Linked DNA regions of Homo sapiens: all the other regions are linked to region 2. The links are contacts of gene promoters, found by promoter capture Hi-C in human tissues and cell types (Jung and others, 2019). All regions are on one chromosome and are shown on one strand. Each heading gives the region's core, a stretch centred on a gene start or on the middle of the fragment in contact. The rest is flanking DNA. Distances are from core to core; before and after follow the strand shown.

Region 1 (6,707 bases), core at 4,208-6,707, 35 kb before region 2:
TATTGGCTGGGTGCATGCTCACTCCTGTAATCCTAACACTTTGGTAGACCCAGGTGGGAAATTCGCTTTAGGCCAGGAGTTTGAGACAAGCCTGAACAACATAGCAAGAACCCATCTCTACAAATTTTTAAAAAAATCAGCTGGGCATGTTGGCACGTGCCTGTAGTCCCAGCTACTCAGGAGGCTGAAGCAAGAGGATTGACTGCTCAGAAGTTCAAGGCTGCAGTGAGCTATGATGGTGCCACTGCACTCCAGGCTAGGGAACAGAGTGAGACCCTATCATCTCTAAAAAGATTAAATAAATAAATAAATAAATAAATAAAATTAGAATATTCTGGTCAATGTTAAAATTAGAGAGGTGGAGTGTGGTCAATGATGTTTGGTCTCAATTCATTGGGTGTGGGATTTTGGTTCTTTTCCCAGTTTGTCCACCCTGAGGGGGACACATTTTCCCCACCATCCCCAGTCACTATTAAGAACAACTACTTAAGAGAAATGTGAAAACTAAGGGAAGAATTCAATTACTGTTAAACACAAAAAGACAAAATGTCATTATTAGTAGCAACAAAACTACAAGAGAATTTACACAGACCTGTTTTTTAAAGCACACAGTGAAGACAGGAAAAGGAGAGTTTTATGGAACATTTTGCTTAACATAAGGTAATTTTTTAAAAGAGTGCTTTATACAAGGTAAGATTTATGGTGCCACTTCCCACAATCTCTCCCCTTCCATTAAAAAAAAAAAAAATCAAAAAACCAAAACCCTGAAAGACACTTTAGTATACACACACACACACACACACACACACACACACTAAGATCAGGGATCAAGAAACTAGAACTGGCCGGGCACGGTGGCTCACGCCTGTAATCCCAGCACTTTGGGAGGCCCAGGCGGGTGGATCATGAGGTCAGGAGATCGAGACCATCCTGGCTAACACGTTGAAACCCCATCTCTACTAAAAACAGAAAAAATTAGCCGGGCGTGGAGGTGGGCGCCTGTAGTCCCAGCTACTTGGGAGGCTGAGGCAGGAGAATGGCGTGAACCCAGGAGGCGGAGCTTGCAGTGAGCCGAGATCGTGCCCCTGCACTCCAGCCTGGGTGACAGAGCGAGACTCCGTCTCAAAAAAAAAAAAAAAAAAAAGAAACTAGAACTATCCTTTATATGGTTCTTCATTAAGGAAGTTGCATTTTGATGAGATGTAGCATACCAAGTCCTTTTGCTCTTAACTAAAAAAATTTGGGGTCAGGCATGGTGGCTCAAACCTGTAATCCCAGCACTTTGGGAGGCCGAGGTGGGTGGATCACTTGAGATCAGGAGTTTGAGACTAGCCTGGCCAACATGGTGAAATCCTGTCTCTACTAAAAGTACAAAAATTAGCCAGACATGGTGGCACACGTCTGTAATCCCAGCTACCGGGAGGCTGAGGCAGGAAAATTGCTTGGACCCAGGAGGTGGAGGTTGCAGTGAGCCGAGACCACCACTGCACTCCAGCCTGGGTGACAGAGCAAGACTCCATCTCAAAAAAAAAAAAAAAAAAATTTTTTTTTTTACGTTTATTTAGAGATGGGGTCTTGCCATGTTGCCCAGGCTGGTCTGAAACTCCTGAGTTCAAGCAATCTACCCGCCTTGGCCTCCCAAAGTGCTGGGTGGGAGCCACTGTGAGAACCACTGCACCTGGCCTGCTCTTGATTAATGAACACACAGATGCTTGTAGAGTGGGCATAGCAGAGTGTTTACTAAATACACTCTGAAGTCTTTCATTTAAAATCTCCAGAAGTACTAGCAACTTGAGTATAGAATTTATGTCAAATCTTCTAAGTAGTGCTGAGTACCCCTGCACCTTCTGCCCTTCAAATAATAGCTGCTTATCTGTAAGTTTTTCCATTTTCAAGTGCTAATTTTATTCTTCTTTTCCCTGAAGGTCACATATGGTAAAACAGCAATACCTTTCTCTCTACTGGATAGTGAATCAACTGTTTTAGACCAGTACTGTCCAACAGAAATATAATACGCATCATGTATCATTAAAAAATGTATTTCATTTAACTCAATATATTCAAAACATCATTTAATTTGTAATCAATATAAAATTGAGATAGTTTACATTTTTTTCAAGTTAATTCTTCACTCCTGGTGTTTTTCACCCTTCAGCACATGTCAACTTGGTCTAGCCACATTTTAGGTACTCAATAGCACATGTGAATAGTGGCTACCCCATTGGACTGCAGTTTTAGATTCTGATTTCCAAAGTTCCACATATTTCTCACTGTGAGAGGCCTATAAATGATACAATGTGCTCTATTCTGCCTTAAAGAGTGGCAGTAACATGGCAGGGCACTTGTCCAGCTGCAAAATCAATGGTATGAGACTCCATTCCATCAGCTACAACATTCGGCTCTATTCCCAGAAACATACATCAAACTGATTAGACTGGATTTTGTCTTTGAAACAGATTAGTGTGGAGCTGTCCTGGAGATGGAGATGTCAACGGAGGATGATTCTGAGACAACTGGCCCCTTGCAGTGCAGATAAACTCCATTAGGGGGCCTTCTAGTCATGGTGGCATAATCCTGGATTGTGATTAATGACAATTTTGTAACAAAATATTGCCATCAGAACTTTCCAGTTTATGAATACGAGGTAAATTTTGGAAAGACAATCTTTTCTAGTACAAAATAAAAGTAAGCCTTTCGAACACATCTCTGGCTGTTCACAGAATGTGAGCATGGCTTTCGTCTCAAGAGGAAAAGTTACCCCTGGTTTTAGCTTGAAAATCAGCTGAGTAGGCCCAGGCCCACAGTGATCTGGTCCACTCACCTCCCTGCTCCAGAGGCAGTCTCCACTTTCTCTAGATCCCCATTTAGTTATGCAGACACCTTCTGTTCCATTCCTTTCTTCAAAGTAGAGTACTTGAGATCATGAAGGAAAGAAAGCTTACTCCTCGGCTTTAAAGAGCTTAGAATGCACATGACCACTCCCCTCCTCCATTAGAAAATTATGGCAATTGCCTGATTACTAACTTGCCAGTTGGCTCTTTGCTCTTAGGAAGCTCAGAGACAACTTGGCTGGAGCCTACAGCATGAGATCTAACAGTTAGGTTTTTTATTCTTGCCCTCTACTTGCTGAGCTTTTATCTGCTTCTAATTATTGTTGCTTGATATTTGTTATAAACCATGCTAAATTATTTTGGGAATGTGGTGGTGGGGGGGTAAAACTAGATTTTTTTTTTCAGTTTGCCCTAATAATTTAATCTTTCACATATTGACCCAGACATGAAATGAAATTATTCCTTACAACAGAAGTCAACCAGAGAACATTCTATTAAAACTGGCTCCGACTTACGTACTGAAATGAGTCACACTGTGAAAGCTCCAGAAAGGTAGGAACTGTCTCTATCACAGGACTTGACACAACACAACAGCAAATATTTGCCAAATTACACAATTAAGTATGTAAGGCTTAAGGACCTTCAAAAAGACACATATTTTAGTCTGGAATATTCACTTGAACTACAAAGATTTGGCTACTTTTAGGAAACAGAATCTATTTGTATCCAAGTGCTCAGGAACACCATGGAGTAAGACAAAATGGGATATGGCCATTCTCGAAATCAAATTGTGACTCAATCTACATGAACTGACATGTCAATGCCACAGTTGTTACACTGGGTCTTATTTACGTCACTATCTGGGGAGGTTTTGTGACCAGAGTTCTTAAATAAGATTTCCTATTTTCAATGAAATCATAACCACTAGCATAAAAATTCTATTTCCAATCACAATTTCTTTTATAGTCATAATTAAAGATTCACATGCCCAAGTTCCTCACTTGGAAGCCCTCTTTGAAAACTTTCAACTCCAGGTTTGCTTCTCTTCATGGCACTTGAGCACAAAAGGATGGTAGTTTAACAGTCCATTCCTGCTTTTAGCTCTGCTAAACACGTAGACAGGCAATGTACTAAGGTAAGCAAGTTGATTCTGCAGAACTGTGGTACTGACTGCAACCACTCATCCCATTTTCCTGGGTGATGCTATGTTTAACAGAGGTTCTATATTGGACAACTCTGCATTGCTAGGCTATAGGGTAAGGGGATTTGGTAGTGGGGGAGTGGCAGGGAAGGTATGAAACCTAGAATCCTAAGGGACATCTGAAGAACTCTGCTCATACGGGCAAGATGGCCTAACTCTGTTCATGTCAGAAAATGCTCTTGGTCACCAGGGCAGGGCTCAACAGGCCCTGTGGTTAGACCTATTACATACAGAAAAGAAGAATGACTCACAACCCATACTTGAATCTATCCCTCTTCTAAGAAGCACCCTTCATTACTCCAAGGAAATGAGGACAAGGAATGCAGACTGGCTTTTTAGCCAGCTTTTCAGAGTCAACCACGTAGTTTATGCAGCATCACCCCGTTTCAACCCAAGACCAATTACTCAGCCTCCTTTCATTTTTCAAATTTCTTGGTTAGCCAGTATTTACCAAGGACATCCTAAGCTTTCCTGAAATGGAAAACAGCCAATATGGAAAGTAATGCTGCAGGGAAGCCACAGTAGTATTCGGAATGGCGCACGGCAACATTTTCCATATCCCACTTTCTGCCATCTCATGCCCACAACAATGGATACATCAGAGGTGAGATTTAAAATGCTGCTGTGGATACAGCATTGTTGTTGCCATCCAGAAGGGGAATTTTTGCAGCACTGATGAGCGTGCCAATACACAACTGCCGTCTGGTCCTGCTTCTTGGGTATTTATTGTGTGCATGAGTCACTTCCGTGACTTATGTCCCAAGAGTGATTTTGATGTATTTTTGATTTTCCAACTTGGCAGTTCATGTAGATAGTGACCCCAAACCATCTTGCCATAGATTTCACTGGAAACACCACTGAAATGCCAAGGAGGGTTAAGTTTTTAAAGTCATGTTTATTGAAGTATGATTTTACATTCAGCAAAATTCATCCTGTTAAGGTTTGACAAACGCACAGTCATACCATAATCAAGATGCAGAACTGTAGAATCACACTAACAATTCCTTCCTGCCCTTGTAATCAACCCCTTTTTGATCCCAAGGAACTCACTGACCTGTTTTTCTGTCAAAAGTATCAAATTTCATCACTAAAATGATCTACAGTACTATGGAAAAATGTGTAAGCACATAAAATACACAAACCTATTTTTTTAAAAGTGAGATACTTAAAATTTCTTTAGCATACCAACAAAAAATGAAGGTAGCATTGCATTTTACTACAGATGTGCGGACATTCAAAGTCCACCATTGTCGTATATATGGCTCAACAGTAATATTTAAGAATATACTGCTGGGTATAGTGGCTGACGCCTGTAATCCCAGCCCTTTGGGAGGCTGAGGCAGGCTGATCACCTGAGGTCAGGAGTTCTAGACCAGCCTGACCAACATGGAGAAACGCCATCCCTACTAAAAATACAAAATTAGCTGGGTGTGGTGGCACATGCCTGTAATTCCAGCTACTCGGGAGGCTGAGGTAGAATTGATTGAACCCAGGAGGTGGAGGTTGTGGTGAGCTGAGATCATGCCACTGCACTCCAGCCTGGGCAACAAGAGCAAAACTCCGTCTCAAAAAAAAAAAAAAAAAAAAAGAATATACTGGGCGGGCATGGTGGCTCACCCCTATTAATTCCAGCACTTTGGAAGGCCGAGGCAGGCAGATCACTTGAGATCAGGAGTTCGAGACCAGCCTGGCCAACATGGTGAAACCCTGTCTCTACAAAAATACAAAAATTAGCTTGTAATCTCAGCTACTCGGGAGGCTGAGGTGGAGAATCGCTTGAACCCGGGAGGCAGAGGTTGCAGTGAGCTGAGATCGTGCCACTGCACTCCAGCCTGGGCGACAGTGAGACTCCGTCTCAAACAAACAAACAAAAATGTGTAAAAATACAAAATTAGCTGGGTGTGGTGGCACGCGCCTGTAATCCCAGCTACTCAGGAGGCTGAGGCAGGAGAATCGCTTGAATCTGGGTAGCAGAGGGTGCAGTGAGCCAAGATTGCACCACTGCACTCCAGCCTGGGCAACAAGAGTGAAACTATCTATTATAAAAAAAAAAAAAAAAAAAAGACTATACTGTAAAATAACAATCTTAGAGTTAAGTCATATCTTTGTTGACCATGTGAACCATGATGAAGGTATTGCTACTTGTTTTATTAACACTGTCAAGTTACAGACCACAGCTGGTTCATGGAAAAACTACCTTAAATAATAGAATTGAATTCCACAGAAATGTTCTACAGGATCAAGTCAGCTATAAGGCAGTTTTGTGTCTCCAAAACTGTCAAATAATATTCCTATAGATGATTGGGGCCATCTCAAAATTCAACCTTGCTACCACTGTGAAAGGGACAAAAAAAAAAAAAAAAAAGCAACCTCTATTCTGTAGATACTAAAGGTTACATATTCAAATATACCTCCTCTACTTGAAAAGCTTCACTGATTCTTTCAAGCGCCAGACCTGTAAAAGAAGTATCACAGTAGGTATTACTAAATAGCAAAATACAGTACTGTCTAGACTGTTTACAAAAACTGTGCAAGTAAGTAAATAAAATCGTCCAGTATCTTACACACTGTTGCTTTAGTAATGTTGTGACATCTAAATTTATGTTTTCACTCAAAATCCTGTCTTTCTCTTGGCTTAGTAGTATTATCCATTTACCAAGAGCTTTTTCCCTTTT
Region 2 (6,091 bases), core at 2,020-4,519:
TAAGGGCAGTTTAAAAAAAAATCTTATATCTCTAGTGCCTAGCATATAATAAGGCTCAATGAATGTTTGAGGAAGGCAAATGACTTTGGTATTTTTAGCCCATCTGGCAGGATAAGTGCCACATTCACTGCATTCTTACTATGTATGAGGTATTTGAATAAAAAGATGAGAAACAGTTTCTGCATTGAATACATGGACACTAAGAAGGGAGCAATATACATGGGGACCTACTTGAGGGTGGGAAGAGGGTGAGGATCCAAAAACTACCTATCAGGTACTATGCTTATTGCCTGGGTGAGAAAATAATCTATGCACCAAACCCCCACAACATGCAATTTACCCATATACCAAACCTGCACATGCACTCCCTGAAACTACAGTAAAAGTTTGAAAGAAAAAAAAAAAAAAGAAATAGCTTCTGTTTTGGAGGAGCTCAGATAACAGCAAGGGACAATATAATGACTAAGAGCAACCAACTGTGTGATCTTTTATCAATTATTTAATATCTCTGAATCTCAGTTTCCTTATCTGTGAAATGAAACCATATATATCCTTACAAGAATTAGTAAAATAAGCTATAATGCAGTGCAATCTTACAAATTCCTGTAAGGATTAAAAGAACAATTATTCAGCCGGGTGCGGTGGCTAACGCCTGTAATCCCAGCACTTTGAGAGGCCGAGGCGGGCAGATCACGAGGTCAGGAGATCAAGACCATCCTGGCTAACACGGTGAAACCCTCATCTCTACTTAAAAAAAAAAAAAAAGTACAAAAAATTAGCTGGGCATGGTGGCAGGCGCCTGTAGTCCCAGCTACTTGGGAAGCTGAGGCAGGAGAATAGCGTGAACCTGGGAGGCGGAGCTTGCAGTGAACCGAGATCGTGCCACTGCACTCCAGCCTGGGTGACATTCCAAGACTCCATCTCAAAAAAAAAAAAAAAAAAAAGAACTATTTTTCAGCACTTAACACAGTGACAGGCATAGTAGACACAGGTTGTTATTATTCATGATGATGAGCCTAGCAGAAGAACACTATAATATGAGGTGAATTTTTTTTTCTTGTTTTTAAAGATGTGGTCTCACTCTGTTGCCCAGGCTGGATTGTAGTGATGAAACTGCCACTGTAAAATTATAACTGAGACGGCGAAAGACATCTGACATCACCAACTCCATCTTGCTTCTAACCTCCAAGCTGTCCTTGTTCACTCCTGGGCATAGGCTGAACTAACTTTGGAAAGAACTTTTAGTTTATAGCTTAAAACAAAGATGATAACAGCCCTTTCCCTAAACAAATCCCCTTCTTGCCTAAAAAAATTCTTTTAATCCTTACAGGAATTTGTAAGATTGCAGTGCATTATAGCTTATTTTACTAATTTTGTAAGGATTTAAATATATATAGTTGGCTTCATTTTACAGGTAAGGAAACTGAGATTCAGAGATATTAAATAATTGATCAAAGATCACACAGTTGGTTTGTGCTTTTAGTCATTATATTGTCCCTTGCTGTTGTTATCTGAGCTCCACCAAAACATAAACTATTTCTTTTTTTTTTTTTGCTCTTTCCAACTTTTACTTTAGTTTCAGGGAGTGCATGTGCAGGTTTGGTATACAGGCTAACAGATTAGCGAAAAGATTAGACATTATGGTTTAGGAGTCATGCAGCTGGAGGCTACAAGATTCTGACCCTCCCCAAATTGCTCCTGGGGATAACAACTCTATTGTAAAGCCTAACATCAGTGTTTGAGATATTTTGCAGACCCTGCAAAATGGATCAGCTGGAACCACCCAGATAGGTAAACTGGCTCATCTGATCTTGTGGTCCCAACCCAGGAACTAAGATTCTGACCCTTCCCAAATTGCTCCTGGGAATAACACTATTGTAAAGCCTAACATCAGTGCTTGAGATACTTTGCAGAGCCTGCAAAATGGATCAGCTGGCACCACCCAGATCGGCAAACTGGCTCATCTGATCTTGTGGCCCCGACCCAGGAACTGAGGCAGTACAAGACAGCTTCCACTCCCTGTGATTTCATCTCTGACCCAACCAATCAGCACTTCCGACTTACTGGCTGTCTCCCCACGCACCAAATTGTCCTTAAAAACTCTGATCCCCGAATGCTATGGGATACTGATTTGAGTAATAATAAAACTCTGGTCTCCTGCACAGCCAGCTCTGCGTGAATTACTCTTTATTGTAATTCCCCAGTGTTGATCAATCGGCTCTGTCCAGGCAGCGGGCAAAGTGAACCCTTTGGGAGCTTACAGCAAGTGACCCAATCACAGCTCACTGCAGCATCAAACTCAAGTGGTCCTCCCGCCTCAGCCTCCCAAATAGCCAGAATTACAGGCGCAAGCCACAGAGGTCAGCAAGGGGAAATTTTTAGGAGCACAGACATTGGGCACAGAAAACGACTACGTACCTTCAGAATGAGGCAGGAAAGTCTTAAAAGTCAAAGTCTTAGAAATGTCTTACAGCCTTAAAAATCAATTAAGTCTTAGACCTGGGGGGGTCAAATCTCAAATACGACAGCAGCCAGAAATTTATTACATCAGAGGTTGGGAATCACTTGGGAAACTTCAAAGGCAGATCAATGGCCAGTTCCCAGCCCCAAACTCTTTAGAATTTCTAGGAGTAGGTCTCCAGCGTGAGTATGGTTTTACCTCTCCTAAAGTGATTCTAATGTGCAGCCAGGGTTGAGAACCACTGCCATTCTAAACCAATGAGGGCAAGATGGCCAAACAGAAGTGTCATTTCCTATTTAGTCTCCTTGATTGTTGCAATGGAATTCCTCAGCTTCAAAAGTCCAGAATTTCATGTGAGATTTCCAAATTCTAAAATGTTGGCAAGTAATTAAAAGAAATTTTTTTAAAAAAGATTGGGATCAAAGAAAACATGGATTCGGGCCCTACTGAGTGTCACTTCGTAACCTTTTTGCAGTTCAACCTCAGGTTTGAACAACCTGATTCTGAGAAGTTAAATAATTTGTCCACGGTTACACAGCCAGTAGGAATAAGAGTTAGGACTAAAACCCAGTCCCTCTGAATTTAATTAATGTTCCTTCCATGAGAAGGAAGGAACACCTGAAGATGCGTTTTAAAAATGGGTAACAGAAACGCGAAGTTACCGCCAGCCATGATCGCAACCACGCATGCGCCTACTACTGCCGGCGAGGCGGAAGAGCAGGGAAGGTTAAAGGCGATGAATTACGACCTCTGCTGGCGACGCTCACGACTCCTGCCGTAAAGGCCGTGTGTGGCGCCTGCGCACCTCCTTTCCCTTTCGGATTCCCGACGCTGTGGTTGCTGTAAGGGGTCCTCCCTGCGCCACACGGCCGTCGCCATGGTGAAGCTGAGCAAAGAGGCCAAGCAGAGACTACAGCAGCTCTTCAAGGGGAGCCAGTTTGCCATTCGCTGGGGCTTTATCCCTCTTGTGATTTACCTGGGTCAGTGGGAGAAGAACCGGGAAAGTGACTGGAGGGAAGAGGGTGGCGGAGACAGCAGCCCCATTTTTGGCCGTCGGGGGAGGGAGAGAAAAATAGGGGACACTGCCGTGCACGGCCCCTGAGGCTGTCTGGTCAAGTGGGGCCGATCTAACCTGAGTTCGAGTTCCCGTTCTATCGCTTTATAGTTGCATGGTCTTTAAGCAGTCTTGCAATCCCTCCTTTTCTATTTTTGCATCCTTAAAGTGGAGGTCATATTTCTCGGGATTGTAGGGAGGGTTGGATGACCCCAGTGGATGTGAAAGTCACTAATTCACTCTCTAGCACTAGGTGGTTCTCGGGGTGTTTTTCCTCACCGCTCCATGTGGTCCTAAGTGGAAAGAGTCCTGTTCAGGGAATCGAGACACCTCGTGAAAGTACCACTGCCATGAAAGCATGATTATAATAATAGTCGTTGGATGCCTCTGCTTTCTTACCTGTACGATGAAGGGTTTGGATGATTTCTATTACTGCCCCCATTTTACAGGTGAGGAAACAGCCGTAGAGAAACTTTTTTGCCAAGGTCGCACAGCTATGCTGACTGAGGGAGTTAGGGGCTCAGGCAGTGGGGCATCAGAGCCCATAGTCTTAACCATTATAGCGCACTTAAAGGATTTGGGGTTTTTTTGGTTTTTGTTTTTAAGACAGAGTCTCGCTCTGTCACCCAGACTGGAGTGCAGTGGCGCTATCCCGGCTCATTGCAACCTTCCCCTCCTGTGCTCTAGCGATCCTTCCACCTCAGTCTCCCAAGTAGCTGGGACTACAGGCTGGTGCCAACAGGCTCGGTCACTTACTGCAAGGATTTGTTAATATTTTTCAGTTAGGGTTGCAGACTGGGACCTATTCTGTAGTTTTTTCTTTTCTTTTCTGTCTTTTTTTTTCCTTTTTTCCTTTTTGAGACAGTCGCTGTGTGCCCAGGCTGGAGTGTAGTGGCGCGATCTCTGCCCACCGCAATCTCTGCCTCTCGGGATCAAGCGATCCTTCCCCCTTAGCCTCCCGAGTAGCTGTGATTACAGACTTGCAGCCACCGCTCGCGGCTAATGTTTATATTTTTAGTAGAGACGGGGTTTTGCTTATGTGGGCCAGGCTGGCCTCAAACTCCTGGCCTCAAGTTAGCTACCTCCCCTCCAGCCGGCCTCCGCCCCGCGCGCGGCCTCCCAAAGTGCTGGGATTACAAGTGTGAATCACCGCGGCCAGGCTGTAGTTTTTTCTTTTTCTTTTTTTTTTTTTTTTTTGAGACGGGGTCTGCCTCGCCCAGGCTGGAGTGCAGTGGCGCGATCTCAGCTCACTGCAAGCTCCGCCTCCCGGGTTCTCGCCATTCTCCTGCCTCAGCCTCCCGCACAGCTGGGACTACAGCGCCCGCCACCATGCCGGGCTAATATTTTGTATTTTTACTAGAAACGGGGTTTCACCGTGTTAGCCAGGATGGTCTCGATCTCCTGACCTCGTGATCCGCCCGCCTCGGCCTCCCAAAGTGCTGGGATTACAGGCGTGAGCCACCGTGCCTGGCCAAGTTTTTTCTTTTTAATTTTACTGCCCCACTCAGGCAGTTCGGTGAAAGGGAAAGAGCAGGTTTTTCATCCCAGCTGTGTCAGTTTGAGCATATAGTTTGACAATTGTAAAACTCAGTTTCACATTTTAAAATGCTATGGTTTTAACAAGGTGCTGCTTCCTATTTAATTTAGGTGTCATGCATTGTATAAGATAAAGTACACTCTGACTAAGCAGCTGTGGTTTCTATTTCTCCATGAGTTGCAAGCCAACTGATAACCTGGGATTATAGAACTTAAAAAGACGTTTTTCTCCCTTATTCTGGGTGCAATTTTTTAAAAAAACATTACTTTTCTAGATTTTAGTGACTTTGTATGGGTACCAAGGATTAGAGTAAATATGACAGTTGGTGTTGTCCCCACTATTCTTGCAGCACCTCCCCCCACACCCACTTCTTTCACTTACTGATAGAAGGGCCTACTCTGGCTGGTCAAACACTGGGACTAGCTCCCCTTTTAGCTAAGAGAGGTGTGGAAGCTTGATTCTTCCCCTTCTTTGTGCCACCTTTTTTCACTGCGTGTACGAGGTCCTATTTTAGCGTGCTCTTGCTTTTTGTGTCCCTTTGGTTTTTTGCTTCTCTGTAAGTCTTTTCATCTACTGTTCCCTCCTCCTCCCTGTTTTGAGATTCCGTTTCTATTGCTAGAAAGCTGTAGCTGGTTGCTGCAATCTGCATGCCAGGGGCTTCGTGTAAGAGTGGATAATGCATTCCTTTTCCATACTAGAGTTTATCTTTCATTTTATGCACACTGGCTATATTCCCTTCCTAGGACTACCGTTACGGTGATTTTCACCCCAACATTCAATTCAAGTTATATGAGATTGGTGTTAAGGTTGTCTTTCCAGTACTTGTCTATCATTGTCTTTTCCTTTATACTGTATATTTAATTTTATGTCTAAACCAGTTCCCATGTTGAAATAGAGACAGGGTCTTGCTGTGTTACCCAGGCTGGTGGTCTTGAACTTCTGGTTTCAAGTGATCTTCGATCTTGGCCTCCCAAAGTGCTGGGATTATAGGAATGGGCCACCACACCTGGCTCCAGGTTGTTCTTTTACTTCCTCCACC
Region 3 (6,189 bases), core at 3,356-5,855, 38 kb after region 2:
ACTTCAGAGAAGAGACAACCTGACTTCGGGGAAGACGACCTTCCCTTCCCGTCCCCTTTCCAACTCTCCTCTTCGCTGAGAGCCGTTTTCATGGCTCAATAAAATTCTCTGCCTTCAGCATCCTGCAATCATCTGTGTGACCTCATTTTTTTTTTTTTTTTTTTTTTTTTTGAGATGGAGCCTTGCTCTCTGCCCAGGCTGGAGTGCAGCGGCGCAATCTTAGCTCACTGCAACCTCTGCCTCCTGGGTTCAAGTGATTCTCCTGCCTCAGACTCCCGAGTAGCTGAGATTACAGGTGCCCGCCACCACACCTGGCTAATTTTTGTATTTTTAGTAGAGATGGGTTTCACCATGTTGGTCAGGCTGGTCTGGAACTCCTGTCCTTGTGATCTGCCTACCTCGGCCTCCCAAAGTGCTGGGATTACAGGTGTGAGCCACCGTACCTGGCCCAAACCAATGTATTTCTTAAATATATTTGATTGCTGTTTTGTACCTCCCTAAAATATATAAAACCAAGCTGTACCCAGACCGCCTTAGGCACATGTTCTCAGGACCTACTGAGGGCTGCGTCACGGGCTATGGTCACTCATATTTGGCTCAGAATAAATCTCTTACAATATTTTACAGAGTTTGACTCTTTTTGTCAGCACTGCTATAACAAAATACTACAGACTGGGTGGCTTAAATGAGAAATGTATTTTCTCACAGTTCTGGAGGCTAGAAGTCTAAGATCAAACCTGTCCAACCAGACCTGTTGACAGTTTTAGTTTCTCTTGAAGTGTCTTTCCTTGGCTTGTAGGTGGCCATCTTCTCACTGTGTCCTTACCTGGCCTCTCCACTGGCACGTGCATCCTTGGTATGCTTTTGTTTTTTTTTTTTTTTTTTTTTTTTGAGACAGGGTCTTGCTCTGTTACCTAGGCTGGAGTGCGGTGGCGTGATCCTGGCTCACTGCAGCCTCAATCTCCCAGGCTCAAGCTATCATCCCACCTCCGCCTCCCAAAGTGGGATTACAGGTATGAGCCACTGCACCCAGCCCCTTCCCCTTCTTATAAGGACACCAGTCATATTGGAGTTAAGCACACCTATATACCTTCATTAGCCGTATTACCCTTTTTAAGACCTTATCTTCAAATACAGTCACATTCTAAGGTACTAGGGGTTAGAACTTCAACATTTAAGTTTTAGGATGATTCTGTTCAGTTTGTAACAATGATCTTGTGTAATCCCCTCCCCTTGAGTGTGGGATGGATCTAGTCACTTGCTTTTAATGAATCAAATATGGCAAAAGTGATGCTATGCCACTTTTGATATTAGGTTACAAAAGACTGTGACTTCTGTCTGATTCAGTCTCTCTCCCTGGCTCTTTTTGCTTGTTCTGATGCCAGCAAGCTGCCATGTTGTGAATTGTCCTAAGGAGAGAGCCACATAGCAAGGAACAGAGGGTGTCCTTCAGCCAACTGCCAGCAAGGAACTGAGGCCCTCATTCTGACAGTCTACTAGGAATCCTGCCAACAGCCATGTGCATGAGCTTGGCAACAGAGTCTTCTGCAGTTCAACCTTAAGATGACTGTAGCCTTGGCTGACACCTTGATTGCAGTCTGGTGAGAGGCTTTGAGCCAGAGGATCTAGCTAAACTGCACTGGCATTTCTGACCCACAGAAACCATGAGATAATAAGTGTTGTTGTTTTAAGCCACTGAGTTTTGGGGTAATTTGTTACAAAGCAATAGATAGCTATTATTATTGTTTATTGTTATTATTTATATTATTTTATTTTATTGTTATTTATTGTTGAGAACAAATAATAGTTACCACCCATGACTAAAGTTGGTCCTTTGTATCCATGGGTTCCACATCCATGGATTCAACCAACCATGCCTTGAAAACTACAACAAAAACTACCCCCAATAATAAAAAAAATACAACAATGAAAAATAATACAAAATTTTCTAGGCTCTCAGGCCTCCCTGGTAAAATAAAATAAAAAAAACCCAACAAATTAAAAAATACAGTATAACAAATATTACATAGCATTTACATTGTATTTGGTATTATAAGTAATCTAGAGATGATTTCAAGTACGTGGGAGGATAGTACATAGGTTATGTGTAAATATTTTATATAAGGGACTTGAGTGTCCATGGATTTTGCCACCTGAGGGGGTCCTAGGACTAATCCCCCATGGATACTGAGGAATGACTGTATTTATGTATATACAACGCTATATTTTTCCATATATTATTTCCTTAATCTTCACAACAATCTTTTAAAATCCTGTTTATAGACAAGGAAACAAGTCTAAAAGGTATTAGATGTTATGCCCTAGTTCATACATCTAAAAATGATAGATCAGGGATTTGAACCCATAGGCTGACTCCAGACCTGGCACCAGGAGAGTCTACATAATTTATGGGGCCCTGTGAAAAACAAAAATATGGGGCTCCTTGTTTGAACATTGTTCAAGATGGTGACAGCAGAGCATTAAACCGTGGTTAGGGTTATTTTGAGTACAGGGCTCTCTGTGCCTGCGCAAGTTGCTTTCCCACTGAACTTGCCCTGCCAGCACTCTTGCTTGCTACGCAATATTGCCTCCCATCTATAAATAGGAAAATATTTCAGATGAGGGTCCTAAAGCCAGTTGGAAAAAATGACAGGATCAGGTGTCCTCATTCTAAACCTACAATTTATTTCTCTGCATCACACTGCCACTCTAGGGCAGTAAACTCACACTCTACCTAACACCTTACCTGGGCTTGAACCTCCTGCAAGATCTTCACACTGATGGACTATTCAGCCACGTTGCTAGGAACACTGATGCCCTTCCTGCTTGAATGGCCATATTCTAGCACATGTTCTACTGAGGGCATATTGCCTGCATAGGGAAGGGGCACACAGCACCAGGGAGCACTGCACCCAATTCCAGTACCATCTGGTGAGCTCTTTGCTATCTAGGCAACTATTTCCTTGATGGCTTCCTGTCAGTAAAGGCAGGCAGGATGGCAGATGGCAGTAAAGAGTTAACGCAGCAGGCCTGGGTTGTCCAAACACCACACATTCCAAATGTCTTTAGGACCGGACTTTGACCACCTGCTGATAAGCTCCAAGCCCTTGTAAAATCCCACCATGAGAGTTTATTTGTATACCTGAGGCCATGGGCCCTTCTGGATATTATATATTAACAATGTAATTTAAGATGAACACCTGTTTTTGTTGTTTTTTTGCCTGAGGGCCTAGGCCACTGCCTTACCAATTTGACCTCTGAGGGCAACTAGAGACTTACATTGTTAAGGTTAGTCATGTGGTTACTCCATAAAAGCCCTGGATACCAACCTTTGGGTGAGCTTTTCTAGTAGGCAACACTTCACATCTATTGTCACACATCATTGCTGGGAGAATTTAGCACTGTCTGTGCAACTCCATTGGGAGAGGACAACTGGAATCTTATACCTGGCCTATGCCCTTTGTTAATAATGACTGAGATTTTTTTTCAGGATTAATGAAAACATCAAACCTCAGATTTAGGGAATTCCCTTGCTGATTTTAAACTCTATCCTTGCCATGTGGACCTCTCCATAGGATAATTCACAGCATGGCAGCTTGCTTGCATCAGAACAAGCCAGCAAAAAGAACCAGAGAGAAAGAGAGGGAGATATTTAGCAAGACAGAAGTCAGTTACAGTCTTTTGTAACCTAATATCAAAAGTGGTATATCACTTTTGCCATATTTGATTCATTAGAAGCAAGTGACTAGATCCATCCCACACTCAAGAGGGAATTACACAAGGTCATTTTGTTGTGAAGATGAGAACAATGACTTCCAAGCTCTTTAAATGTTGGACTGGGAACTGGAAGTCCCCATTACACTACTAAATTAATACACATTCGCTTCTTTGTCTTGTTAAAGAAATATGGATTGTGAGTGGAGTCTTCCAGCTTTCAACAATGGGAGAAATATTTGTTATGATGAGCAAAACAAAATACAAGAATGCAACATATTTGTAGTCTAATTTTTTTTTAGCCCTGAATTCAGAGCTTCAAATATAATGTAATCTTAACATGTTTCTTTTCTTTTTCTTTTTTTTTTTGAGACGGAGTCTCACTCTGTCGCCCAGGCTGGAGTGCAGTGGCGCGATCTCGGCTCACTGCAACCTTCGCCTCCGGTTCAAGGGATTCTCCTGCCTCAGCCTCCCGAGTAGCTGGGACTACAGGCGCCTGCCACCGCGCTGGGCTAATTTTTTTTGTATTTTTAGTAGAGACTGGGTTTCACCGTGTTAGCCAGGATGGTCTCGATCTCCTGACCTCGTGATCTGACCTCGTGATCCGCCCGCCTCGGCCTTCCAAAGTGCTGGGATTATGGGTGTGAGCCACCGCGCCCGGCCAACATGTTTCTTTAAAAAGCACAGAAATAAAACTAGAAGGAAGTATTCCCAAAGATTAACAATGAGTAAATATTGATCTTAATCATAGTATATTGGAGGATATTAGCTCTTCTTTCTTTTTTTAATTTTTTTACAACCTTAGCATACACCAGAGGATGCTCTTATTTTTGGTTTTATTTTCTACATTGAGCATATATGTCTTAAAACTTCCAAAAAATGGAAAAATATGTTTTCCCCTGAAGTTGTCATGGAATAAGGAACAAGGTTTCTTAATTTGGGAGCATATGCTTACTGAAATGGCTAATTTTATTTATTTGTTTTTAGAGACAGGGTCTCACTCTGTCACCCAGGCTGGAGTGCAGTTCTGTAATCATAGCTCACAGGGCCCTTGAACTTCTGGCCTCCAGCGATCCTCTGGCCTCAGCCTCCAGAGTAGCTGGGACTATGGGTACATGCCACCACACCCAGCTATTTGTTTTTATTTATTTATTTATTTATTTATTTTTTATTTATTTATTTAGTAGACATGGAATCTTGCTATGTTGCCAAGGCTGGTCTTGGACATCTGGTCTCAAGTGATCCTCCTGCCTTGGCCTCCCAAAGTGTTGGAATTACAGGCATGAGCCACTGTGCCCAGTCTGGCTTATTTTAATATGTGGTAATTACTGCTGACATGTTAGGAAGTATGCTGAAGAAACATGAGCCTCGTCCTTGTTGCTATAAATTGACCATTCCCTATTGTGTTTGTCTTTGTTATCTCTAACCAGTAGAGTGAATAGTGTGATGATGTGAAAAGGTTTGATCTGTACTGGCTGTTTCCCAGTCTCCCTGGAAATACCAGCAAGATAAATTCCCCATTGTGCTGGATGATTGTGAGTGAGCTACAAGCAGAACTTGATATGCTGAAACATAACACAATTTGTAAGACATTACTGAACTTCTTAGGCAAAAGCAGATATCAAAGTATATGTTGATTAAATGCATATTGCTGAGATTTTCTTCCCCTGAAATTCACCTACCCAGATGATAAGTAATTGCACCACATCTCCTACTTTCCCTGTTAATTCTAGAAGTCTGTAAGAGACGTGCTTTGTGTTACTTCATCTTACTGCTTCTATCCTTTTGTAAATTACCAAAGATCACTATTAATTTGAGCTCATGACATCTTTCTGATATTTTCCTTTGGTACATGTGGAACTGAGTGATAAATGTGGTTCTTTGTCATGAGCACTATGGTCGTAATACCTTCCATTTATATTTGTCCCTTCCTTTGATCTCTTCTTTCCCCTGTGCATCCTGAATCACTTCAGGCCCCCATCTCTCTTTGGCAATCATGATTCCTTCCTGTATTTGCCCCTGTTCTCCCCATCTCATGCCAGCCTTCACATTGTCTTTGGTAAACTTCCTCAGACATGCTGTTCACAAAGCTTAGATGGCTCTGCACTGCCTGGCTGTCATGTTCAATCTCACAGAACGCTATGGTGTCCCAACCTGTCCTCATAACCCCATTCTCCACTGTGGCACCTCATCGCAGGGTGCGGTCAAGCTGGAGTTCTTCATATCCCCAGAACCATCATTCCTCTGCATCGTGGCCCTCACTCTTTCTTGGGTCTGGGAGGCCCTCTCCTCATCTCTGCTGACAGCAATCTTACTTGTCTTTATGACCTGCTGCAGCATGAGACACTCATGAGGTCATCTGTGATTCTTGCTCGACCCTCTGCCTCAGGCAAATCAAATTTTCTTTTCTTTTCATTCCTATTATTATTTTTCTTTATTACTAATATGGCAGTCAATCTCCTATTTGAAGTACAG
Region 4 (6,554 bases), core at 963-3,462, 52 kb before region 2:
TAAAGTTATAGATGTACTGCATAAAAGTATAATTTTGACATTCTGTCTTGTAATCCTGCATATTACATGTCCCTGGGGAGAAATGCATCTTTCTGGATTTTAACTTTGATCCATCTTTTAGGTCAATGATGAAAACATGCTTTGCCTGTACTGCCTTGCAGGGAGATCAAATGTGGCACTTTGCCATGTCTGTCTTCCTGGTAGAATTATATGGACATAATCTGCTTTTATCAGCAGTGTTTGGCTTAGTGGTGGCTGGATATGTATTAATATTTGGGGTCTTAATTGGTGATTGGATTGAAAAGAAACCAAGAAATAAAGGTAACACTCTTAACTGTGACATACATATTTATGTGGTACATTATGACTTCACTGGCTTTTTTGGTTTATTTAGTGAAATAAAATTCATAAATTGCTATGAACTTAATAGCAAAAGAGCATAAGTTAAAAACTCTAGATGAAGTTATACAGCTTTGTGTCATCATTCTCTGATTCTACATGTAAAATATTTTAATGTAGTTTTTAGATTTTTGCTAAGTATAGGTTTTTAATATCAAATTCCTGAAAAGTGCTTTCTTTTTAATATTTTGGCATTACCTATGCATAATATACTTGTGTTGTTTTTATCAGAGGCAATTTATTTGTGTAAATGAGTTTTTGTACTGGGTAATCTGTCTAAACTAGTCATTAATATCTGGAGACTTATTTGTTCAAATGTAGATCTATTTTAGCTTTGGGCTATACTATCTCTTTAAGCGTCTTTGTCCAATAAGAATGTAGGCTATCCTAAGTTTTTCCTATTCCTTGATTTCTAGTCAACGTGACTGCCTTCCTTCTACCATGGAAGGTAGGACTTTTCTCCTTCTACCATGGAAAGGCATTCTCTGAAGCCACACCATTGAAAAGACTAGCTGATTGAAAATCTGGTGTGCTGGTCTTTACGCTAAATTGGTAAATTCAGTTACAAATTAAATCCAGAAGAGTGTGATGTAGCACTAGAACATTTTAAGTTTCTTGACTTACCTAGAATCCAGCTTTTCATATGATCCGTCTCTCAGATATGTTTTCATTCACTTGCAAAGTACAGCTTTTTTCTCTTTTGGTTGCAAAGGCTTTGTCTTTAGTGAGCTCAAGAGTCTGCTCTTTGCCTCTTAAGCCTGTGATCACCGATGGAAATGCTAACCCTGGTTGCACTGGGATTTGGTCTAATGCAACTGCTCTGCATTATTTTTTATTATATTTTATTTTTTTGAGACAGGGTCTCAATTTGTCACCCAGGCTGGAGTGCAGTGGCACAATCTCAGCTCACTGCAACCTCCGTCTCCCAGGTTCAAGTGATTCTCGTGCCTCAACCTCACGAGTAGCTGGAATTACAGGTGTGTGCCATCACGCCTGGCTAATTTTTGTATTTTTAGGAGAGACAGGGTTTTGCCATGTTGGCCAGGCTTGTCTGGAGCTCCTGACCTCAAGTGATCTGCCCGCCTTGGCCTCCCAAAGTGTTGGGATTACAGTTGTGAGCCACCGCACCCAGCCTCCTCTGCATTAAATGATGATATAGCTGTGAACTGCCTGTTAAAACTGAGAGTAGAGATTGGGCTGGGTGTTTCCATTCACAGTTGCTTATACCTCGCTCTGCATGCAGAACGCCTCCGTCACCGCCTGTTGCACTGTCCTGATGCTTGTGCTCCCCTACAAGAGGCAGATGGAACAAATCTGGGATGGCTGGCTCACTGTGAGTGTCTCCCATGTCCCTACGTCACAGACACCCTGAATGTCCACCAGTTAGTGTTTTCTTTGTGGCCACGCTCACTGGTTTTGGATCAGGCTAATCTTTCCTCAGTGTCCTCCTCTCCCCTAATTTGTGAGTCTGAGCTGAAATCCCACTGACATGAAGGCAATAGAACAGCAGAGTCTGTGTCTGCAAGGTGCAAATTAGCATCGGCTCTGGCTCTGATGGGGTGGGAGGAAGAAAATGCTTAGCATTAACACAGTAGAATTGGGCTCCAAACCTACATTGAATCTTTTTCTCTCTCAGGTCTTTGTGTTCATTTAGATGTTCCTTGAGCTGTCAGATAAATAACCTTATGCACTGCAGTGGGGCGGGAAAATCTATTCTTGGGTTCCATACACCCTTTCCCCTCCTTCGGTAGGTGGCCTGCTGTGCACTGGTGACCACCCTAGTGGCCTTGGCAAACCTGGCCGGCACGGCGCTGACCGTCACCATCCAGAGGGACTGGATCGTGAGCTGACGGGTGACAACAGAGGCCAGCTGGTTGGTGAGTGGTACCGCCCTGGGTACTGATCCTCTAATCAGCTGAGAAGTAGAGAGCTGACAAGGCAATCAGGGCTCTGAGAGAGGCTGACAACAGCCTTTAAGAATATGTTATTTGGAGTCAATGAGACCTGGGTTTGAGTCTGAATTCAGCTAAAATCAGCTGTGCCTCTTACTAGATGCATACTCCAGGGCAAGTTACGTGACTTTCCTCATCTGTATAATGAGGGAAATAAAGACACACACACACACACACACACACACACAGCTCAGCTTTGGGAAGGATTCTATAAGATATAGGATTTGGAAAGCACTTAACACTATGTCTGCATGTAGGAAGTGCCTAAAAAATGATTGGTACTGTATTATCTAAAGAATATATAGGCCAGGCGAGGTGGCTCACGCCTGTAGTAGTCCCAGCTACTCGGGAGGCTGAGGCAAGAGAAGTGCTTGAACCCGGGAGGTGGAGGTTGCAGTGAGCTGAGATCGCGCCACTGCACTCCAGCCTGGGCAACAGAGCAAGACTCTGTCTCAAAAAAAAAAAAAAAAAAAAAAAAAAAAAATATATATATATATATATATATATATATATATATATATATATATATATATATATAGGCTGTACTTTTAGGAGAGAAGCTTCTCAAAATGTATCACAGAGGTACCTTGGCAATTTTAGGCCTAGAAAATAAATAAATTAAAATATTTATTGGCCAGGCTTGGTGGCTCATGGCTGTAATCCTGGAACTTTGGGAGGCCAAGGTGGGAGGATGGCTTGAGGCCAGGAGTTCAAGGCCAGCCTGGGCAACACAGGAATACACTGTCTCTATAAAAGAAAAAAGAAGGCTGTGTGGGGTGGCTCACACGTGTAATCCAAGCACTTTGGGAGGCTGAGGCAGGTGGATCACCTGAGGTCAGGAGTTTGAGAATGGCCTGACCACATGCAGAAACCCTGTTTCTACTAAAAATACAAAATTAGCTTGTTGTGGTGGCACATGCCTGTTATCTCAGCTACTTGGGAGGCTGAGGCAGGAGAATCACTTGAACCTGGGAGGTGGAGGTTGTGGTGAGCCGAGATCGCACCATTGCACTCCAGCCTGGGCAACAAGAGCAAAACTCTATCTCAAAAAAAAAAAAAAAAAAAAAAAAAGATTTATATTTCTTAATTCTGGCCAGTGATAAGCTTCCACTTTAAAAAAAAAATTCATTTTCAAGCGTAACTGTCAATTATCATTGATAATAAAGGTAAACACAATTTTTTAAATAATGGAGTTAAATGAAAGAATCTGGCATTTTTGCTTTTTCTCCCATTTGCAAAACTTGGATCATTCACATTGAGATATATACACGTTGCCAACTTAAAGCTGAAGATCTCATCCTACTCTCTATTTGTGCGGTTGGTACTCTGCTAGAAAATGTTTGTGAGCACGGATGGCCAAGATAAAGGAAGCTATTAAGGAGGAGTCTATAGAAATCATGCCTTGCAAAAACTGGGAACCCCTTATAATCATGATTTCTTTTAAACTACACTTATTTGGATGTACTCTGGTTCAAATAACAGCACCTAAAATAAGACAGCTATGTGGATAAAAGCCAAGTAACATGGTATCGTCCATCTCCGGGTGAAGAATAGAAAGTCTTCCTATTCTTTGTTAATTAAATTTTTTTTTTAAAAAAAGATAAAGCACAGAATTTATTACAATTAAAAAATCTTGTAAATATATCCTTCGATGATGGTGGAATAGTTAAGATAATAAGCTTCATAGTCACACTGCTTGGGTTTGAATCTCAGCTCAGCCATGTGCCCTCTCTGTGACTTTGAACAAATAAAATCACCTATCTGTGCCTCAGTTTCCTAACTTGTGAAAGGGAAACACTATTGACCTGTAAGAGTTGTTGTGAGGATTGAAATGAATAGATGTAGAAAGCTTAAAACTATCGCCTGGCACAGAGTAAGTGTTCAACTAATTCTGTCCTCTACCCTCCTCTTGTCACCTTTCTCCCCGACAAACATGTTGGTTATAATAATGGCTGTTAGTACTATTATAGTTGTTAAGATAATGGGTTGTGTTGGGAAAGAGTGCTGAGATGGGAGTTAAAATAATTAGCTACAAGTAACACAGTCTGTCTGTTTCTCAGTTTATTTATGTTAATTGTCCATGTTCCAATAGAATTGATCTTGAAGGTCTTTTCCTGGTTGCAAATCCTATGGCTAATCTATAGTTAAACCCAAAGGGATCTTTCCTGTTTTCACCATAACTGCATGGCTAGCAAATCTAGCAAATGCATGATGTTAAATTCACCAGAAGGAAGGACTCACCCATTAAGTTGCAATGTTTCCTTCCTCTCACTTACAGGGATGAATACCAACAGTCCGGCAGGAGGACCAGATCATCAATATATTTGCTCCCCTGTCTGTGGGTCAAGTGATGACATGGGCATCTCACGTGATCAGTTGTTGTTTCATTCTTGGATGGAACTTTGTTTCACTTCTTGTAGTTTCTATTTCTGTCCAGGGTTTATCAGCTAGTTCGCCAATTGGCTATACGACCCCAGCAATACACAGTAGGGCACCTCCTAGAAAGGCAACAGGAGGCTGTGAACATTGAAAGTTATGCAAACTCAGAGGGAGTTCCTGTTCTTTTCTTCTCCTTTATGTCAGTGTTTCTTTCCAGAACTCTTCTTTCCAGAACTCTTGAAAGTTCTGATCATAATCTGATCACAATCTCAACATTTTATCTGCAAATGTGCCTAGAAACAGTGACAAATGAGAGGGCTCCAGCTGTGCCATTGGTCATGCAGTTCATATGGCTGATCTTATTGGTGGGGGCAGGCAGGGCTGCCTTATACACAGGTTGTGCACTGCATAACTCTGGGGACTCCATTCAGAGAGACTAACACCCCCATGGGACTGTGCAGTATACAACGTGCACAACCTATCCCACGGTCCTGGGGGGCGATTACTCCTCCAATCTCACTTACGAACATCCTCCCCAGAGATACTAGAGAGGCAAGTGTGTCACAGTATGAGCTGCTCTTTGGTCAAGACAATATGATGAATTGGTCATTTCTGTTATCAACAGTATTTTTTTTAAATCAGAAATTCCCAAGCAGTATAGTGGGAATAAAGGGAAGGGGGCCTTGCCAGTAGATATGACCTCATTCTCCCAAAGAAAGAGCCAACACTGCATACTGACTATATTGCCCATCTGCCTGGTACAGCACAGTCCAGGAATTGCTTCTGCTCTGTTTCTTTTTCTGTACTTCTTATAATTAATTCTCTTTTCTCTCAAGTTATTTTGCAATTAAAGTCCACCAGATCTCACTGCATAAATAAAATATATGTATTTGGAGAGATAGATAAGTAGAGATACATATTTAGATGAGGGATGAATAGATAGATATGCAAGCAGATAGATGGATAGATAGAGTAAACTATATCCTTCCCCTCTGTGGCTATTACCTGTGTGACCATGCAAGGTTAGTTTATTCACATTCTGTCTCACTATCTGTAAATTAAGGACAACAAAAGAAGTGATATCATAGGGATGTTGTGACAATTAAATAAGATAGTTTATGTAAAGCCCTATTTTACTCCCTGGCATATAGTAAAACTTAAGTCAACATTAGCTATTTTGTTCATTGTTGTCATTGTGACCTTTTTAAAAACTGTTCTGGCAATACATTCATTTCTGCAATTAAGAGCCTAATCCTTCCCACACTTCTTGGTCTACAATGGATCTGGCCCACCTGCCCCTTTGTCCTCCCTCCACAGTCCTATTTGGTTCCTCTAGTCCTTTGCAGGATTTGTCTTAATTTGCACTAAATACCCCTCACAATGGTGTGTGTATATATTTTATTTTATTTATTTATTTTGACACAGAGTCTCACTCTGTCACCCAGGCTGGAGTGCAGTGGCATGATCTCGGCTCACTGCAACCTCCGCCTCCTGGGTTCAAGCGATTCTCCTGCCTCAGCCTCCCGAGTAGCTGGGATTACAGGCACATGCCACCACGCCGGGCTAATTTTTGTATTTTTAGTAGAGACAGGGTTTCACCATGTTGGTCAGGCTGGTCTCGAACTCCTGACCTTGTGATCCACCCACCTCGGCCTCCCAAAGTGTTGGGATTACTGGCGTGAGCCACTGTGCCCAGCGGTTATATATTTTTAATCTGCTTATAATCATTGTCTATTCTATCCTGGAAGACTGAAAGGTGTTTAGCTTTTTTTCACATAAGTATCTGTTTCTTCAGAATAACCAAAGGAAGTATCTATCACTGTT

Evidence for each region. Contacts are between HindIII fragments. The study calls those that stand out against the background at their distance.
Region 1: a contact is called between a fragment that was not itself captured here and the fragment with the promoter of TOMM7 in region 2, in 2 of the 25 tissues and cell types used here (hippocampus and psoas muscle).
Region 3: a contact is called between a fragment that was not itself captured here and the fragment with the promoter of TOMM7 in region 2, in 2 of the 25 tissues and cell types used here (IMR-90 fibroblasts and spleen).
Region 4: a fragment that was not itself captured here is called in contact with the fragment with the promoter of TOMM7 in region 2 in 5 of the 25 tissues and cell types used here (aorta, hippocampus, liver and 2 more).

The regions. Positions count from the first base shown.
Region 1 is chr7:22,856,753-22,863,459 of GRCh38, reverse strand. SNHG26 (small nucleolar RNA host gene 26) reads right to left here. Exons shown (of 5, transcript NR_146320.1): 3 at 6,444-6,487; 4 at 2,822-2,913; 5 at 2,024-2,574. Among named protein-coding and RNA genes, the nearest start is that of SNORD93, 3.5 kb to the right of the region's middle. RefSeq lists an enhancer at 3,751-4,950. The HindIII fragment of the contact is 3,477 bases long and covers 3,719-6,707 here.
Region 2 is chr7:22,820,027-22,826,117 of GRCh38, reverse strand. TOMM7 (translocase of outer mitochondrial membrane 7) reads left to right here and starts at 3,269. Exons shown (of 3, transcript NM_019059.5): 1 at 3,269-3,441. The coding sequence starts at 3,339. LOC112267993 (a long non-coding RNA gene) reads right to left here and starts at 3,161. Exons shown (of 3, transcript XR_002956543.2): 1 at 2,419-3,161. RefSeq lists enhancers at 3,039-3,248, 3,279-3,358, 3,028-3,788. The HindIII fragment of the contact is 34,135 bases long and covers 1-6,091 here.
Region 3 is chr7:22,783,474-22,789,662 of GRCh38, reverse strand. No RefSeq gene overlaps it. Among named protein-coding and RNA genes, the nearest start is that of TOMM7, 36 kb to the left of the region's middle. The HindIII fragment of the contact is 7,103 bases long and covers 1,054-6,189 here.
Region 4 is chr7:22,870,789-22,877,342 of GRCh38, reverse strand. LOC107986776 (a long non-coding RNA gene) reads left to right here. Exons shown (of 5, transcript XR_007060249.1): 4 at 1,617-1,732; 5 at 2,151-2,652. Among named protein-coding and RNA genes, the nearest start is that of SNORD93, 17 kb to the right of the region's middle. RefSeq lists an enhancer at 4,605-4,714. The HindIII fragment of the contact is 6,914 bases long and covers 1-5,669 here.